Regions from separate parts of the Homo sapiens genome. Here region 1 is linked to region 2. Evidence: promoter capture Hi-C in 16 types of primary human blood cells and fetal thymus (Javierre and others, 2016). All regions are on one chromosome and are shown on one strand. Each heading gives the region's core, a stretch centred on a gene start or on the middle of the fragment in contact. The rest is flanking DNA. Distances are from core to core; before and after follow the strand shown. Region 1 has its middle 5.4 kb from the start of URI1. Region 2 holds the start of DPY19L3 (dpy-19 like C-mannosyltransferase 3).

Region 1 (3,554 bases), core at 189-2,688, 2.5 Mb before region 2:
CTTTTCTGTACATTTTTTAAATTTTGTTCCTCAATTCCTCCACTACTACATTTTTTTGGTATTTAATAGATTTTAGTGTATCATTTTGATTCCTTTTTTCTTTCCCTGTCTGTATATTTTTTAGTTATTTTCTTAGCGGTTGCCTTGGGGATCACAATTAGCATCTTAAATTTATAACACCCTAATTTGAATAATACTAACTTAGTTTTAAGAGTATACAAATACTTTGCTCCTATACATCTCTTTCCCTCCCTCTTTATATTATTATTGTCCCAGATCATATCTTTATACATTCTGTGCCCATTAACATAGATTTATAATTATTGTTTCATGCATTTGCCCTTTAAATGATAGGTGAAAAACAAAGTATTATGAACAAAACCTACAATAATACTGGCTTTTATATTTACTGATGTATGTAGTTACTATTTTTATCAGTGTTCTTTTTTTTTCTCATCATGGCTTTGAATTACTATCAAGTTTCCTTTCATTTCAGCCTGATGGATTCATTTTAGCAGCTCTTGTAGAGCAGGGCTACTAGCAATGAGCTTTCTCTGCGTTTATTTATCTGAAAATGTCTTAATTTCTCCTTTATTCCTGAAGGATAGTTTGTCTGGTAGGAAATTCTTGGTTGACAGTCTTTTTTTTTTTTTTCCCCAGGACTTTAACTGTGTTATTCCACTGCCTCTGGGCCTCTGGTTCCTTTTCTTTTCTTTTCTTTTCTTTTCTCTTTTCTTTTTTTTTGAGATGGAGTCTCACACTGTCATCCAGGCTGGAGTGAAATGGTGCCGTCTTGGCTCACTGCAACCTCTGCCTTCCAGGTTCAAGCAATTCTCCTGCCTCAGTCTCCCAAGTAGCTGGGACTACAGGCACCCGCCACCACGCCTGGCTAGTTTTTTGTATTTTTAGTAGAGACAGGGTTTCACTATGTTGACCAGGCTGGTCTAGAATGCCTGACCTCATGATCCACCTGCCTTGGCCTCCCAAAGTGCTGGGATTATAGGCGTGAGCCACTGTGCCCGGCACTTAAAAAAAATTTTTTTTTGAGATGGAGTTTTGCTTTTTTAGAGTTTTGCTCTTGTGCCCAGGCTGGAGTGCAGTGGTGCAATCTTGGCTCACTGAAACCTCCACTTCCCAGGTTCAAGCAATTCTCCAGCCTCAGCCTCCCAAGTAGATAGGATTACAGGTGCCCACCACCGCATCTGGCTAATTTTTGTATTTTTAGTAGAATGGGGTTTCGCCATATTGGTCAGGCTGGTCTCGAACTCCTGACCTCAGGCGATCTGCCCACCTCGGCCTCCCAAAGTGCTGGAATTACAGGCCTGAGCCACTGCACCCAGCCCCTCTATGGTTTCTGATGAAAGCTTAGCTATTAATGTTACTGAGGACTCCTTGTACCTTACAAGTTGTTCCTCTCTTGCTGCTTTCAAGATTCTCTTTTTGTTTCTGATTTTTGACAATCTGGCTGTGAGTTTCAGTATGAATCTCTGAGTTTCTCGCGCTTGTAATTTGTTAAGCTTCTTGGACGTGTATGTTCATATCCTTCATCAAATTTGGGAAGTTTTCAGCCATTATTTCTTCAAATTTCTTTTTCTGTCCCTTCCTGTTCCTCTTCTCCTTCAGGAACTTCTACTATGCATATGTTGATATATGCTTGATGGCATCACATGGATCTATCAGGCTCTGTTCATTTTTCCTTTTCTTTTTTTTGAGATAGAGTCTCACTCTATTGCCCAGGCTGGAGTGCAGTGGCATGATCTTGGCTCACTGCAACCTCCTCCTTCTTGATTCAAGTGATTCTCTGGCCTCAGCCTCCCCAGCAGCTAGGGTTACAGGTGCGCGTCACAATGCCTGGCTAATTTTTGTATTTTAGTAGAGATGGGGTTTCACCATGTTGGCCAGGCTGATCTCAAACTCCTGAATTCAAGTGATCCACCCTCCTCGGCCTCCCAAAGTGCTGGGATTACAGGCATGAGCCACCATGGCCAGCCTATTTTTCGTTATTTATTTTTCTCTCTTTACAACTGGACAATTTCAATTGCCTTATCTTCAAGTTCACTGGTTCTTTCTTCTTCCTGATTCTTCAGATCAGCTTTTTGATCTCTCTAGTGAATTTCTAAGTTCAAGCTATTGTACTTTTCGGCTCCAGGATTTCTATTTTGTTCCTTTTTATAAGATTAAACTATCTCTTCATTGGCCTTCCCTATTTGTTCATATATTATTTTGGTTTCCTTTAGCTCATTGGGTGTAAGACAGTTGATTTAATGTCTTTGACTAATGTTTCCAATGTAAAGGCTTCCTTGGGGATGGCTTCTATTGAATTCTTTTTTTCCCCCTGTGAATAGGCTATACTTTCCTTTTTCTTTGTATGCTTTGTAATATTTTGTTGAGCACTTGGCATTTTGGGTATTATTGTAGTAACTCTGAAAATCAGATTCTCCTCCTCTTCAGGGATTGCTGATTTTTGCTTGTTGAGGGTTGCAGCCATCTGTTTGTTTAGAGACTTTTCCAAACTATGTTTGCAAAGTGTGTAGTCCTTATTGCATGTGGTTACTGATGTTTTTGTTTCATAATCTTTACAGGCAACCAGTGACCTGGAAATGATATCTGTAAATTTCTGGCTACAAAAAGGTGTTCTTTACTTTCAAATCTCCTGATGGATGCTGCCATAGGAAGCACAAGAGGGCTGAAACCAATACAGGAGTCTGTGCTAATCCCTCAGGACTCAAAAATGCCCCAATTTTTGGAGGACAAGGGTCATCTTGCCCACCTTGCAACCAGCCAGCCATTCCAGGAAAGCTATTCCTGCAGCCTCATGGTAGGGTGAGGGCTGAGAAATGGGGCATGGCAGCTGTTTTGCATCCACCCTGTTGCTGTTCTCTTACCAACAACCAGCAGCCTCTTTTTTCATCAAGAACTCCCCTGGCTGTTTATTCATGTCTCATGAGGTTTGCCTGTCTAATTTTTTGTATCTTTAGTAGAGATGGGGTTTCACCATATTGGCCAGGCTGGTCTCGAAATCCTGACCTCAGGAGATCCATCTGCTTTGGGCTCCCAAAGTTTTGGGATTACAGATGTGAATTATTGTGCCCAGCCAAGGCTGGGTAATTTGTAAAGAAAGGAGGTTTATTTGGCTCGCAGTTCTGTGGGCCATACAAGCATGTGGCACCAACACCTGCTCGGTTTCTGGTGAGGCCTCAGGAAGCTTCCAATCATGGTGGAAGGCAAATGGGGAGCTGCACGTCACATGGCAAGTGGAAGTAAGAGCTAGGGAGCAAGAGAGGAAGGAGGAGGTGCCAGGCTCTTTTAAACAACCAGCTTTCATGTGAACTCATTACTGCAGAAGAGCAGCAAACCATTCATGAGGGATCCGCCCCCAAGACCCAAACACCTCCCACTAGGCCCCACTTCCAACATTAGGGATCACGTTTCAACATGAGATTTTGAGGGAACAATATCCAAACCATGTTAGTGGCCCTCTATTGACTCCAACATCTATGAACAGGGCTGGTGCTTGCCTTGGTCAACTCTTGTCTCCCATTCCCAGTGGGGGG
Region 2 (3,551 bases), core at 289-2,788:
GTTTCTATCAAAGCCATCCAGCAGATACCTCAACATCTTTCCACAGAACGTGTGCTCTTTACTAACAACCGACACACAAAGGAGGACGATCTCCAACAGAGGTGACTAGGAAAGGCTTCCTGGATGGCGTAATTTAGTGTTGGAGTCAGACCAATGAGCCGCCTTTTCACGGGTGGAGGTCCCAGATGGCCATCCCTTTAACAAAAATCAATTAACATGTAAATTATGTACTGACAAATACAACGTTTGATGGGCCCGCTGCAGTGGCTAAAGCCTGTAATCCCAACATTTTGAGAAGCTGAGGCAGGAGGCCTGCTTGAACTCAGGAGTTTTAGACCAGACTGGTCAACACAACGAGACCCCATCACTATAAAAATTAAAATGAATCTCAGCTACTCAGGAGGCTGAGGAAGCAGGGTCACTTGGGCACAGGGGACTAAGGTTGCAGTGAGCTACGATCACACCACTGCACTCCAGCCTGGACGACAAAGCAAGACCCCCATCTCTACGAAAAATTTAAAAATTAGCTGGGCATAGTAGTGCGAGCCTGTGGTCCCAGCTACTCCGGAGGCTGAGGCGGGAGGATCGCTTGCGCCCAGGAGGCCGAGGTTGCAGTGAGCCGTGATAGCACCACTGCACTCCAGCCTGGGCGACAGACTGAGAGCCTCACCTGTAAAAAATAATTTTAAAAAAGGTTCCACCTAGTGTTTTCCGTGGTGTGACTAAGAAAAGTATCTAGAAATAAAGCACAGTCAGTACCTGCTCTCAAAAAACGGCTGCCAATCTAGTTTGGAGACAGAAAAATATACCCGACTGAGAACACAGAGGAGCCTGTTTTCGGAAGAGGGGCGTCTTTGGAGACGCAAAATCCTCTCCGCGGGACGCTGACGGGCAGTCGGTAAAGGACTTCCAAGCACTGGTCAGTGACAATCGGGCGCTGGGGCTTTGCCAAGGCCCGGAGGCGGCGCGCCAAACCGGGCAATGCGGGAAGCGGGGCAGGCCCGAGTGGCCCTACTGCTGCCGTCCCTACTGATCCCTGCGCATCCGCCACAGAGCAGGGAACGGCAGAAAGGAGGAAGGAGGGGGAGTTCCGTAAATCAGGCCCTCAGGGGCTCCCAGGCCCGCACCCCTCTCAAGCCCCGGGGACCACCGCGGAGCCGCTGCTCCGGGCCGTGCGGCTCGAGGCGAACCTGCCTCAGAGCCGCCGGGCCCTCCTATCCCGAGCCGTATCTCTAGCTCCGGCCTGAGGTGGCCGGCGACTGCGTGCGCAAACACAAGATCCGCACCCCACTCCCCGCCACTGCAGCTCCGCGGCCGCGCTCAGAGTCTCCGGAACAGACCGGACTCAATGCGGACCAGGCAAGCGGAAGTGTGCCGCTTCCTTCCGGCCAGCGCAGCACGAGACGAGGCGGGGAACCGCGGGAGGAGGCGGGGCCTAGTGTTGACGAACAGCTCCCGGGGCCTATGGGCGCGGGGGCAGCCGCCCGGCCTCTCCGGCGCGCCCCCTCCCCGGGGCTGTTGACGCCCCCCAGCCCCTCATTTCCACAAAGCTCCGCGGCGGTTCTGCCCTCCTTGTACCCGCGGCGCGCTGCGGCCCGTGGCGCGGCCCCGTTCCCGCCTAGCCCCGTCGGCCTCCTTCCCCTCCCGGAGCCGCGCGTGAGGACGGCTGAGGCCGCAGGTCTGTGGCGGCGCGCCGGGACGCGCGGGCGAGGGTCTACCGAGAGGGCGGGCGGGCGCCGGCGGAACCCTCGGCTACAGCCCCGAGCCCCTGGGGCCGCCCCTCCCCGCCGCGTGGCGCAGTCGGGGGGCGCGGCCGCGGCGTCGGGGCGTCGGGAGGGGCGGAGCGCGGGAGTGTCTGCCGGGACGCGGGCCGGGCTGGGCTCCGGAAGGACCAAGTTTGCGGAGCGGCTTCTGCTCGTCGGCCGTGCGGCGAGGCAGGGCCTGGGCTGCGACCCCGGCGGCCGCTCGCGGTCTTGGGAGAGCTGGGGCGCGTGCCTGAACTTCCCGGCTGCCCCTGTCCTTGGAGACCTACCTGATGGGGACGCCAGGTGTGCAGGGGCGTGGCGCGTAGGTAAGCGGACCCGGTGCCTGCCTCGTCCAGGGGATGCTCACTAGAGCGCTAGGCTTTTTTATTTTTATTTTTTAGAGACAGGGGTCTCGCTGTCTCGCCCAGGCTGGAGTGCAGTGGCGTTATCACGGCTCACTGCAACCTCGAACTCTTGGGCTCAAGCGATTCTCCCACCTCAGCCTCTGGAGTAGCTGGGACCACAGGCATGCACCACCGAGCCTGGCTATTTTATTGTATAGATAGGGTCTCGCTCTGTTCCCCAGGCTGGTCTCAAACTCATGGTCTGAAGTCATCCTCCTGCCTCAACCTCCCAAAGCGCTGGGATTACATGAGCCGCCTCGCCCGGCTAGCGCTAGTCGTCCTTATTAATAAAGAATCGCTTCTGGTCCCTTTTCAGTTGTTTACAATGGCATTCCTTTTGATCTGATGGAGGAACTTTTTTTCTTAGTTCATGGGACTGTTGCAGTGCCTGACACATAATTGGTACTTAAATATGTGTTGGTTTTCTGCCTTAACATATTAGAATATATGAATTGTTTAAAAAAGTCCTCTCACACTTAGGGAGGACTCTAGGATGAGGTCACATGGGGGATAAGCCCATCTGTGGCTGTAGGACTTTGTTAAACACTCCTCTTCTCCCTCTCTGTTCCAGATTCTCCATTTCCAGTGCTTGAAAGCACAGTACTTAAATCTGGCTTCCTGCTTTTTTTTTTTTTTTTGGTATGAATGAATACATGAATTGTATAATGTTAGTTGGTTTGTTCTGTAGAGCAAGTTACCCTTAGGAATTAATAAACTGTGGAAACAATCATGTCAGGCTACTAGTCACATTTAAGAAATAATTAGTAAGAGGCTGTTCATTATTCAGAGGAGTGAAGCAAGATGTTCTGGAGGACTGGAACCCGCTTACTCACTGCCACCACTCCCCCGCCTCCCACTTGCTGCTGCCAAACCAGGCTCCTGCTCCCCCCCACCCATTACTCCCACCGACGCTCCCTGGGATAGCAGCTGCCCTGATTGGCACACCCCCGCAGTCATCACCACTGAGGCGTATTCCTGAAGCTGCCAGTGTGAATTGTTTTATAGAACACTGGTGTTAAAATTCAGGTACCTGAGACAAAACAATATTTTAATTCTTCAAAATCCGGTTGTCAACACATTTACTATGGAGTATCTCCCACGTGGCCACTTCTGTGGGAGGTACTGAAGACCTACTACCGCCTATGGAAGTAGAAAATAATATACAACTGTGTAGTTACGTGACGCATTGCGTGGTAACTGCTATGGCTCAGGGAGGGAGAAGATCAGCCGGAACTGGAATGTCCCAAGATGTTCTGGAAGAAAAGCAGTGGCTCGTTTGTGTTGCTTACCTGTATTCCTGACTCCTGGCAGGGCCTGCTGTAGAGCACATGCTTCATGAATAAATATGATTGAGTTGAATAAATATTTGAATTGTGTTTTGAGTGTAGCTTTGAAGGCCAGC

The links. The method cuts DNA at HindIII sites, captures the fragments that hold promoters and counts their contacts. A CHiCAGO score of 5 or more calls a contact.
Region 1: a contact is called between a fragment that was not itself captured here and the fragment with the promoter of DPY19L3 in region 2, in 1 of 17 cell types (total B cells). The highest score is 5.3, in total B cells.

The regions. Positions count from the first base shown.
Region 1 is chr19:29,935,061-29,938,614 of GRCh38, forward strand. It overlaps a transcript of URI1 not described here. Among named protein-coding and RNA genes, the nearest start is that of URI1, 5.4 kb to the right of the region's middle. The HindIII fragment of the contact is 153 bases long and covers 1,363-1,515 here.
Region 2 is chr19:32,404,232-32,407,782 of GRCh38, forward strand. It overlaps DPY19L3 (dpy-19 like C-mannosyltransferase 3), which reads left to right and starts at 1,539. Exons shown (of 19, transcript NM_001172774.2): 1 at 1,539-1,678. DPY19L3-DT (DPY19L3 divergent transcript) reads right to left here and starts at 1,308. Exons shown (of 3, transcript NR_046201.1): 1 at 760-1,308. RefSeq lists silencers at 1,091-1,140, 1,171-1,920. The HindIII fragment of the contact is 5,769 bases long and covers 1-3,551 here.